Regions from separate parts of the Homo sapiens genome. Here regions 1 and 3 are each linked to region 2. The links are contacts of gene promoters, found by promoter capture Hi-C in blood cells and fetal thymus (Javierre and others, 2016). All regions are on one chromosome and are shown on one strand. Each heading gives the region's core, a stretch centred on a gene start or on the middle of the fragment in contact. The rest is flanking DNA. Distances are from core to core; before and after follow the strand shown. Region 1 holds the start of PLEKHS1 (pleckstrin homology domain containing S1). Region 2 holds the start of FHIP2A (FHF complex subunit HOOK interacting protein 2A). Region 3 holds the start of NRAP (nebulin related anchoring protein).

What was found. The method cuts DNA at HindIII sites, captures the fragments that hold promoters and counts their contacts. A CHiCAGO score of 5 or more calls a contact.
Region 1: the fragment with the promoter of PLEKHS1 here is called in contact with the fragment with the promoter of FHIP2A in region 2 in 5 of 17 cell types (total B cells, M0 macrophages, non-activated CD4 T cells and 2 more); the score reaches 12.8 in total B cells.
Region 3: the fragment with the promoter of NRAP here is called in contact with the fragment with the promoter of FHIP2A in region 2 in 1 of 17 cell types (non-activated CD4 T cells); the score reaches 6.4 in non-activated CD4 T cells.

What each region holds. Positions count from the first base shown.
Region 1 is chr10:113,749,760-113,753,189 of GRCh38, forward strand. PLEKHS1 (pleckstrin homology domain containing S1) reads left to right here and starts at 1,923. Exons shown (of 13, transcript NM_001395068.1): 1 at 1,923-2,002. The HindIII fragment of the contact is 1,743 bases long and covers 314-2,056 here.
Region 2 is chr10:114,820,169-114,823,438 of GRCh38, forward strand. FHIP2A (FHF complex subunit HOOK interacting protein 2A) reads left to right here and starts at 1,612. Exons shown (of 17, transcript NM_020940.4): 1 at 1,612-1,955. The coding sequence starts at 1,911. LOC124902508 (translation initiation factor IF-2-like) reads right to left here and starts at 2,780. Exons shown (of 2, transcript XM_047426127.1): 1 at 1,105-2,780. The coding sequence starts at 1,933. The coding sequence ends at 1,328. RefSeq lists silencers at 1,361-1,670, 1,681-2,030, 2,091-2,310 and an enhancer at 2,016-2,516. The HindIII fragment of the contact is 9,749 bases long and covers 1-3,270 here.
Region 3 is chr10:113,662,677-113,665,792 of GRCh38, forward strand. NRAP (nebulin related anchoring protein) reads right to left here and starts at 1,365. Exons shown (of 42, transcript NM_198060.4): 1 at 1,135-1,365; 2 at 676-770; 3 at 3-90. The coding sequence starts at 1,206. The HindIII fragment of the contact is 5,999 bases long and covers 1-1,654 here.

The sequences.
Region 1 (3,430 bases), core at 673-3,172, 1.1 Mb before region 2:
TTATATTTCATGGGTTTATCTACAGTACAAATAGCTTTGTTAGGCTTCTTCCTCCAAAGAGTTTTGTAATACTATTGGAAAAATAATACAAAAAAGCCTAGAATAGGGTGGGTTGGATGGGTGGGTAGGTGGAGGGACAGACAGATGAACAGGTTGCTGATGGAAAGCACATCTAACTGTTTCATCGGTATCCTTTCCAAAGGAACACAAGTCTTACAGTAATTTTCCCTCTTCCCCTTTTTGGTTAGGTCTCTATATTATAACAATAGGCTGTCTGGACTTTATAGTTCCCAAGTAAGTGGAAATCAGCACAAGCTTTTTATGAACTACTTAGAGCTACAACTGGTATCTGATTAAAATTCTAATGTAAAGACATTAAGACTATCTCCAGAATTATCAAAAGTTAGCCCAAAAGAACATCCAGGAAATTCTGTTAGGTCTATCTCTGTCTTGTTATAAAGAAATACCTGAGATTTGATAATTTATAAAGAAAAGAGGTTTAATTGGCCCATGGTTCTGCAAGCTGTACAGGAAGCATAGTCCTGGCATCTCTCAGCTTCTGAGAAGACCTCAGGGGGCTTTCTTTTACGCATGGTGGAAGGTGAGGCGGGAGTAGCCATGTCACCTGGTGGGAGTGGGAGCAGTAGAGTTGGGGGAGATGCCACACACTTTTAAATAAAGACCTCAGTACAACTCACTATCTCAGACACAGAACCAAGCCATGAGGGATCCACCCCCAGGACCCAACACCTCCAGCCAGACTCCACCTCCATCACTGGGGATTACATCTCAACATGAGATTTGGAGGGGACATCCAAACTATATCAAAATTAAGAAATTGTTTTTCCTAAATCAAGCAAAACTGGTCCTGTGCAGGAAGCAAACAATATATCAATAATTTCTGTATGCCTGAAGTCCAGCTAGGTTTGCTAAATGAAGAAACCAATAACATCTACCCTCCATAGGATGCAAAAGAGAAAAACAAAGAAATACCCTCTGTTGAATGCTAACTGTGGATAAAGCACTGTGCTAGATGCTTTTTATATGTGAAATTTTACTTAACTTTAAAAAAAAATCCTGTGAAGTCAGTATTATCTGTTCCATTTTGCAGATGAGGAAACAGACTCAGAGAACTCCAGTTAACTTGCCAAGACCACACAATGGATCCATGGCAGAGCTGATTCCAGACCAGCTACCCTCGTGAGGATGAGGATTCAAATGATGTACTTTTACTTCTAAAGGCAGTAGAACAGGATAAAATTCATCATCACTTCTTCCTCTCCCCTAGAAATCTGTAATACACATGAAAATATACCTAAGACCCTTTGGTGGCTGGATACCACTCACCAGGTCTAAGAATGATGGTTTGCTCAATTGCTGTTGGTGGCTGTGCAGGGGAACATGCCTAGCGCCACCCTGTTGATGGTAACACTCTGTCATGGCTGAATGAGCAACTCTTCCTGGAAACCATTGGCATGTACAAGTGTTTAGAGAAGCCAGGCTTTTGTTTCCTCATCTGGTACAAAGGAACCCTTTCTACCCTTCCCAGGAAGACATTGGTTAAGATATGGCTGAGGGAGGCATAGGGATTTTTTTTCAATGGTAGTCACCACAGACGGTTGAGGGTAAATTGGCGTTGTTCTCAATAAGGGTTATTGTGACCATGGTCCAAAGTCTGGCAGGAATTTTTTTTTATTATTAATGTGTTTGCTTTCATTTTTGGTGCTAGGCAGCTGGGACACCAAGGAGAGTTCTGTGGCAAGCCACAAGTATGAAGGCCCAGAACTTCCCCTGAGGGCATAGCTTCCATTTCAGTTTGGGGCAAGAATAAAATCTGCTCAAGGATATTAGTTTGGGAACTTCCTGGTGGTTCAGATTTCAAGCAGAGTTTGTGCTTAATCCTCACCCAGGCACCAAGGCTCAGAGTCAGCAGGAGTGAGTTCAGGAATCCTCGGGACAAGGCACTTTCCTGAGCACTGGACCAGCGACCTCTTGGCTTCCAGTAAGTACTGCTTGGTGTATCTGGTTTGGACTTCCAAGGCTGGGATGATCTAGAAGCTTTTTTGCAATTGAACAATTGCAAAATTGGAAATGGAAAATTTTGCAGATATGCTGTATTTCTGTTATGGGCACTTTCTTCATAAGCTTCCTAGGCTATACTATAGTCAGAGGGAAATAGGACTGACCTCTTGGTATACTGTATTCACCAAATCCAAAATAATGTTATAATAAATGGGTCAGGCAGTGACTGTGGGGAGATTCTCCTGAATGAGATCAAACAGCTAAATCAGAAAGGCTTTCTTTTTTGTTTGGGGGCAATGACAAGAAAAACAAGCAGAACTATGAAAAGACTTAATTCTACTTTCTTAGATAGGAGGAAAAGCAAAGTAGTTAAGGCCAGCTCTCAAGCTAGAATTCTGGTTCTGCTTCTTTTTAATTACATGATCAAAGTAAAGTTGTTTAATCTCTCCGATAACCATTTCCTCGTCTGTAAATGGGCATTGTATCATTGTGAAAACAGTGCAAGCTTTAGAGTACGGTTATGAGGTTAGGATGAGATTTTATATGTATATGTGAAATTATATGTATACATATACATAAAATCTTTCATATACATATTGCTTAGAAGTGCCTGGAATGTATTAAGTACTCAAAAAATGCTACCCATTATTAAACAACCATAGAATCATAGAATATCTGAGCTGGAAAGGACCTAACAACTAGCATTTATTGAGCTTCTATTATGTACTGAGGAGTGCTCATCAACAGGGTATCTCAAGTGATACTCCCAGCAATCTGATGAGGGTAGTAATAACCTTCATGTTACAGATGAAGAAATGGAGGTGTAGAGAAGTATTATAAAGTATCCAAGATCACATTCCTCATAATTCATGGAGATGAAATTTAAACCCAGATGCCAGAGCTAACACTCTAAACCACCACACCCTACTGCCTTATCTGTCCTCTCATTTTACGGTGGGTGGGGAGATGAAGGAGGAATGGTTGCAGCACATGACTCTGGAGCCCTTTGCAGACACTGGAAGGACAGAGATGTCCTCCAAAGCACACTTTGACATCCACAGGGCACAGGGAGGGCAAATGTTATTTGGGAGTGTCCATGAGCATGAATGTGGTGCTGTGTGGAGTTCTGCCAGGGGACCTAGGTCCAAGTCATCTCAGTCTTCTCTCAAATGCAGCTTTTCATTTGTAAAATGAGCTATCTCAGAATGAAGCCATTCTGAACACAAAAAAATAATGTATGCAAATGCATTTTATAAACTTTAAAGGCTTTAGAAATATTTTTTAAAATGATTTTTTGGCTTTTTGACAAACAGCAGCTCAAAAACAGCTTGCAGTAAACACTGCTTTAAAATATGCCACCCACAGCTAATCTCTCCTGCACATTTCTCCGATTGGATCCTTGAGGGCC
Region 2 (3,270 bases), core at 362-2,861:
TAATTCCCACAACAACCTCAAGAGGTAGGTACTGTTCTCCCCTTTTGACATATAAGCAAATTAAAACACAAAGAAGTTAAATAACTTTCCACTGTGGGTGGCAGAGCTGGGACTTAGGCTACCCAGCCCCAGAGCCTGGCCAGTTACCACCACTCCATATGACAGCCACCTTTTCTCTGTTCCATGAATCAATTACAGATATATATACGTGTGTGTGTGTATACATGTATATATACGTATGTGTATATATACGTTTGTGTATGTATAAACGTATGTGTGTGTATACATGTATGTGTGTGTGTGTGTGTGTGTGTGTGTGTGTGTGTGTGTATTTTTTTTTTTTTTTTTGAGATGGAGTTTTGCTCTTGTTGTCCAGGCTGGAGCGCAATGGCGCAACCTTGGCTCACTGCAACTTCCGCCTCCCGAGTTCAAGGATTCTCCTGCCTCAGCCTCCCAAGTAGCTGGGATTACAAGCATGTAATCCCATTACACCACCACGTTCGGCTAATTTTTTTTTTTTTTTTTTTTTTGTATTTTTAATAGAGACGGAGTTTCACCATGTTGGCCAGGCTGGTCTCGAACTCCTGGCCTCAAGTGATCCTCCCGCCTTTGCCTCCCAGAGTGCTGAGATTACAGGCGTGAGCCACCGCGCCTGGGCCAGATACGTATTTTCAGCACTGGTTGTGCAAAACTCACTCCCCACCTCATCTTAAGAACTTAATGAACCTTTTGGTAAAACGCCAATACCAGCATAAAACAAATTTCTTCAGGATACAAATATTTTCATAATTTGTATTAACTCAACCTAAACTTTACCAGCCTGAACTGCTTCTTCAAGGCTTGACTAATACACTGTTAGGGAGTATTTTAAGCAGCCTCCACCCAAGTGCTTACCTTGTAGCTCTATTTATCTGCCTTAGGCATTTACTGGACTCCTTTCAGATTCTTTCCCTCGCTAATGTTTTCCGGTATCATCTGATAACTGAATAGAAAATGCTGTTCTGAATCACTACACCTCACTATCAACCATATCACAAATAAATTATGTTATATATTATATATAAATATTATAATGGGCTATTTAAACTAAGCCAGCCGTCTTACCATGTGCTCATGTGGGATTTCCTGTTTCAATGTTGAATAATAATATATTTTAAAGTTAGCAAAGCCATTTCACCTGCAGTCGTTGATTTCTTCAAAATCTGAGCATTTAAATCCATTGCCAATGTTTGCTTAAAGAACACTGTTTTCTTAACGAGTCTTCCAAATCGGTCCTTACAGGAAGAACCTCTGAATGCTATACGCATATATGGACGGCTGCGTGTCCCTACAAAGTCAGCCTGTTACTTCCACTGGAGAAACAAAACTCTTGAGAATCGCTGAGCTGTAAAAATGTTAGAAAGCCGGTGTCCCAGGCGCCCTGAGAAAGCCGGGAGAGGGCGGTGGCTGCCCACAGGCCGCCTCCAGCCCCGCGCGAGGCCGAGGCCTCAGCGCGCCCCCCGCCCCCGCGGCGCCTAGCGGCCCCGCCGCAGGGCAGGCCTGGCCGGGCCTCCCCGGGCTGCGGCGGCGCCCCCTGCAGGCCGCGGCGGGCAGAGCGGGGGGAAGGAACCCGAGCCGGGCTGCCACCGTGTCCCAACCGGTGCCGCCGCCGGAGCTTCTCCGGGCCCCGAGTCCTCGCCGAACGCCCTCCTCGCCGCCCGCCGCGTCCCGGCGCCCTCCGGAGCCGCCGAGCCGCCCGCGCACACCTGAAGCGGCCGGGCCAGGCCCTGCCTCGATCCTCAGCTCGTCCTCCCCGCCCCGCACCGGCCTTCACTCTGGAGCGGCCCCGGCAGCCGCAGCAGGGGCGGCGGCGGCGGATCGAGGAGCTCTCCAGGTCGTCCCGGGAGAGGCTGCTGCAGTCCCGGGACAGGATGTTCTCCAAGTTCACCTCCATCCTGCAGCACGCCGTGGAGGCGGTAAGGCCGCGGGCTGCGGGCGCACGGCAGGCCGGGGATGGCGGCGGCCTACGCTCCCCGGCGGCCTCGGGGACAAGCCGGGCGGCCTTGGCCCGGCCCTCGGCGGCCCTGTCCCCGGTTGGGGTGAGGCCCCAGGCGGGCGCCCTGGGCGGCCGCCGGGTCGTGGGGGCGCCCGGGGCCTCGGGCCTGGCTCTGCGGGGGTCCCGTCGGTCCCTGGCTGCCCCAGGCCGGCAGTCCCTGCCCTCCTCCAGGAGCCGGGGCGGGGGTGCCGGGGAGGACCTGGCCGCCCAACGCCGCTCGGTGGTCGCCTCATTCCTCTGATGGGGCCGGGGGTTCGGGGAGCACCTGGCGGGGTCGCAGAGAGCTCCCCCGGGCTCCCTTAACGTTAACCTTCTCCGGAAAAAAAGTGGTCAGCGTTGAGCAAGACAAAAGAAACGAGCAAGCACCGCTTGGGCTTGGTTCTGTTTTGTTTTGGTTTTCGGGGGTAGAGGTGGGAGAGGCATGGTCTCGCTGTGGGGCGTCCCTGGCGAGGGAGCCGCCGACCAGCCCCCGGGTTGCTGGCTTTTGCTTTCTTGGGCCTGGAGGCCGAACTCAGCTGAACCTTATGTATTGATCTGAAATAGGAGTTTGGAGGGTCCAGTCGAGTTTGCTTTCGACAGCTTCCAAGCTCACCGAGCCCAGAGACCATCTGTTTCCTTTCTTGTCTAGTTCTCTTCCTGGACACTCTTCGTTTATCCTGCAATTGTACTCTCCTTTGAGGGTTTTAGACACCAGCATAGAGACAGTATTCAAGTATCCTAGTAGACTAATAAGTGAAAAGAAACTAAAAAGAAAATGCCTTGTCACTGTTCTAGTAAGAATGCTAGTTGCTTCACTTGTTTACTTTATTCTGGGAGAACTGCCCAAATTGAAAAATGCATTCTGTGCAGAAACAATTACTTTGCTAATTTTTAACATGACATTCTCTTCCTATGTTCATATTATGTGATAGGACACTTTAAAATGTACACTTTAAAAATGTCAGATACAACAATGATTTTTTATGGGCAGGCAAAAATGGAGTTTTTGCCTTCAGTAATAAAAACAAACTTTAGTACAATTGTTATTTAAGTGATACATGAGAAGCGTTAAAAAATTTAGCTCTAGGGCAAGCTCTTGGGAAAATGTATCAAACAGGAAAAACAGGGTTTCATAAATGTAGAGCAGTATTACACGGAGGGAAATGACAGTGGTAGACTTCAAGACAACTTTTAGTTTTTACTTGCTTATACACACTCTACTTTTGTTGAAAGAATTTAACTGCAGTTTATTAAAA
Region 3 (3,116 bases), core at 115-2,614, 1.2 Mb before region 2:
ACCCCACTGATGGCCTCTGGAAATGTCCTCACATTTAGATTTAATGGAGTGTGATAGACACTGGTGAAAGTGTTGTTCTTAGGGTTATGGCTACAACAAATAGGTATAAATCAAAATTAGAAATGTACTTTATCCAAATGATTGAGGGACTATTCTTAAAATTATTTTTAAATAATAACAGTTATTTTTAAAAAATCAATAAATGTAAAACTTAAAAATTAAGTTCGTGATTTTCCAGGCAATGCATCTTACAGAAAAAAAAGCAAATCAAATAAAATCGACATATATAACTGAAAGCCTAAATTTAACTGGAAATGATCACTTGAAAACTTTCTGAAGAAAGTAAAAAAGGATTCTGAAATTATTTAAAAGAAAATACTTCAAAGCTCTATATGCATATTTATGGCCATTACATTGTTCTGCACAGTATTTAATAATTTGACATGAGGTTATAGTGGATATATTTGATCTTTTACTTGGAAGAAATTTGAAGTTTTGTGTCCATTGCATAAAATCCCACCTTAGGTCTCTTTAATGACAGGATACAAGGGAACACTTTGGGAGAAGATATTTCTTGGATTTAACCCTGGGTTATATGATTTGAACGTTTAGTTGGCTCCTTGTTGAAAAACAAATAAAACTCAAGAGGTAGTGGTGGGGGCATCAAACACTTACGCGTGACAGTACGGCTTTTTCTGGTGACTCACAAAGTTATTAACAGACAGCATCATCTTGCAAACTTCACAGTGAAAACAGGCTTTATGCCATATCTAGAAATCATATAGAGAAGATTTAGCAATTACCCTTTTCCCCCCAGACTCAAGGTTCTTATATATTTTAGGGTAAAAAAATGAACTTCGAGGATAAAATGCTGATTTTAAAAAAATTAAAATCCACACACACAGCTATAACAACACTCACGGTTAAATAAATGGATAACTTTTTTTTTTTGAGACAACACAGAAGAAATAGAAATGTGTAGAACTAAATAAAGGTGAGAAAATATAACTTTTTCTTGTGGTTCAAAACAATTTAACTGAAAATTAAATTTCCATATTTACCTATGTCCATATGTGAGAAGGTCAATTTCCTGTGTTTGTTATTATTCACAAAAGCCAAGAAATGTCTACTGACCTGATCTATACAGCTGATCTTCTCGGCAGGATAAACCCCATACCCACACCTAGAACAGGGCTGCACATTCATCTCGAAGCCGGAAGAGAGAGGACAAAGATAGGCAACAGGCAAGAAATGCAAGGAGAACCCCCAGTCTAGTTCAAGTCTTCAAAATCCGACGACCATAAAATTCCTGTGGGCACCTCGATCTTTCAGAATCCAACTTCCACTTTCCTTTGCTGACCTTCTAGTTTGAAGTCAGCAGTTGGATGGTTTTTAAAGCTGCCACTTACTCAAGGGGCTATTTTGGCCACTCACTCAGCACGCATGTGTCTGGGAAATAAGGTGGAAGTATTTCTAGCTGACATGCTTCTCTAAATAGAAAAATGAACTCACAACAGCATCATGTTTATGTGGATAACCAAACCCTGGTGTATGATCAGGCAGCATGGAGTGGTTTAGCACTAGCTGTGATCATGACCCAAGAAAAGAACCTAAAGGAAGATGCCACACCGTCATCCAACAATCAAATTAGAAAAGCTTGCTCTATGCGTCCTATGACTAAAGCAGAAAGGCCAGCTCCCAAAAATATAGAAAATAAAATAGGATTGATTCACTCCTTTAAATGGATAAATATCACACTTGAATTTTAACTTTACCTACCCAAAGCGTTTACAACAGTTAAACTAAAAACTTAATAAGGTGTTAGTTTGTGTTTAGCTTCTACTGGAACGCAAAACTAAAAACTAATGAGAACTCTTGGTGTTTTGGCCTCTGTATTTTATTCTAGAATGTTCCAAGAAGGCCTTTGTGCTTGTTCCCTTGCCTCACAGGCCTTAAAAGAGGTGATATGAAGACAGAATCTCTCTTCCTGGCTTTGGGAAGCCTCTCATTGCCTTCAGTCTCTGCTGAAATGTCACCTTATCACCTTATAGAAATACCTGATACAAAATGGCACCTCACCTGTCCCCACTCCTATCTCATTATCTTCCATTACTCTTAGCCTGCTTGATGGTCTTCATAGTGGTAATCACAGCTGGACATATTACATGTTAATGTTTCTATTTTTAAAAATTGTGTCTCTCCCATCAAAATATGAGTTCTGTCTAAACAGGATCTTTGGTCCTTTTTGCCACTTCTATATCCCCCATGCCTAGAACAAGGTCTGCCAATAAAAGGTGCTTAATAAAGATTTATTGGATTAATGAAATAAATTTAATACTCACACCAAAATGCCTATAGAGGCCAGGTATGAAGTCTAGATAATGGTAGGAACTTTTCCAAATAGATGAGCACTCATCCCATCTGAAGCAGGCAACTGCTCCTCAGTCCCAGCCAACTGTCATCATGAAACAATCAACATTCCAGGTTGCCAAATATCCTGATTTTTCCGGAATATTTTCCAAATATTCTGAGCACACCAGAAGTCTGCATTTACAAATGAAATTCCCCTTTTTGTATATAAAACAATATAACAGAGTCGTGGGCAGTATTTGGCCAGCAGGTTACCAATTTGTGACCTTGGCCCTAAATGTTCTGAGGTTAGGTTGGTGTCCCCAGGTAGGGTGGAGTAAGATGAGTAGTATTTTGGGGTTGTGCTGAGATAGCCAGGGGGTAGGAAGAAGCTCTAAAGCCAATGAAGAAGAGTAGCATTCAAGTCCACATGAGTATAAGGGGAAGGCGGAGTCTCAGGTTTTCCCACATGGGGCTAGGGCTCTCTCAGCATGGGGAGGGGACTCAAAGCAGGGACTCCAGGCTCAGCAAAGACTCCCACACTGAAACGTGATTGGGCAGGAGGGCTGCCACCAGCCTGCAAATGAGAACAGCAATGGGCACAGCACAAAGACCTGCAGGGTTCCCCGGTTGTTTTGCTCTGCACCAGGCTTCTCAAGCCTTACTTAGTGGGTGGGGTGGAAGCTCCAATAATCACTGAAATGAACTGTACCCCAGTCCGGAGGGCTGAGGAATCAGGAGGATTTCACTTAAAAAAGAAGCTTGCA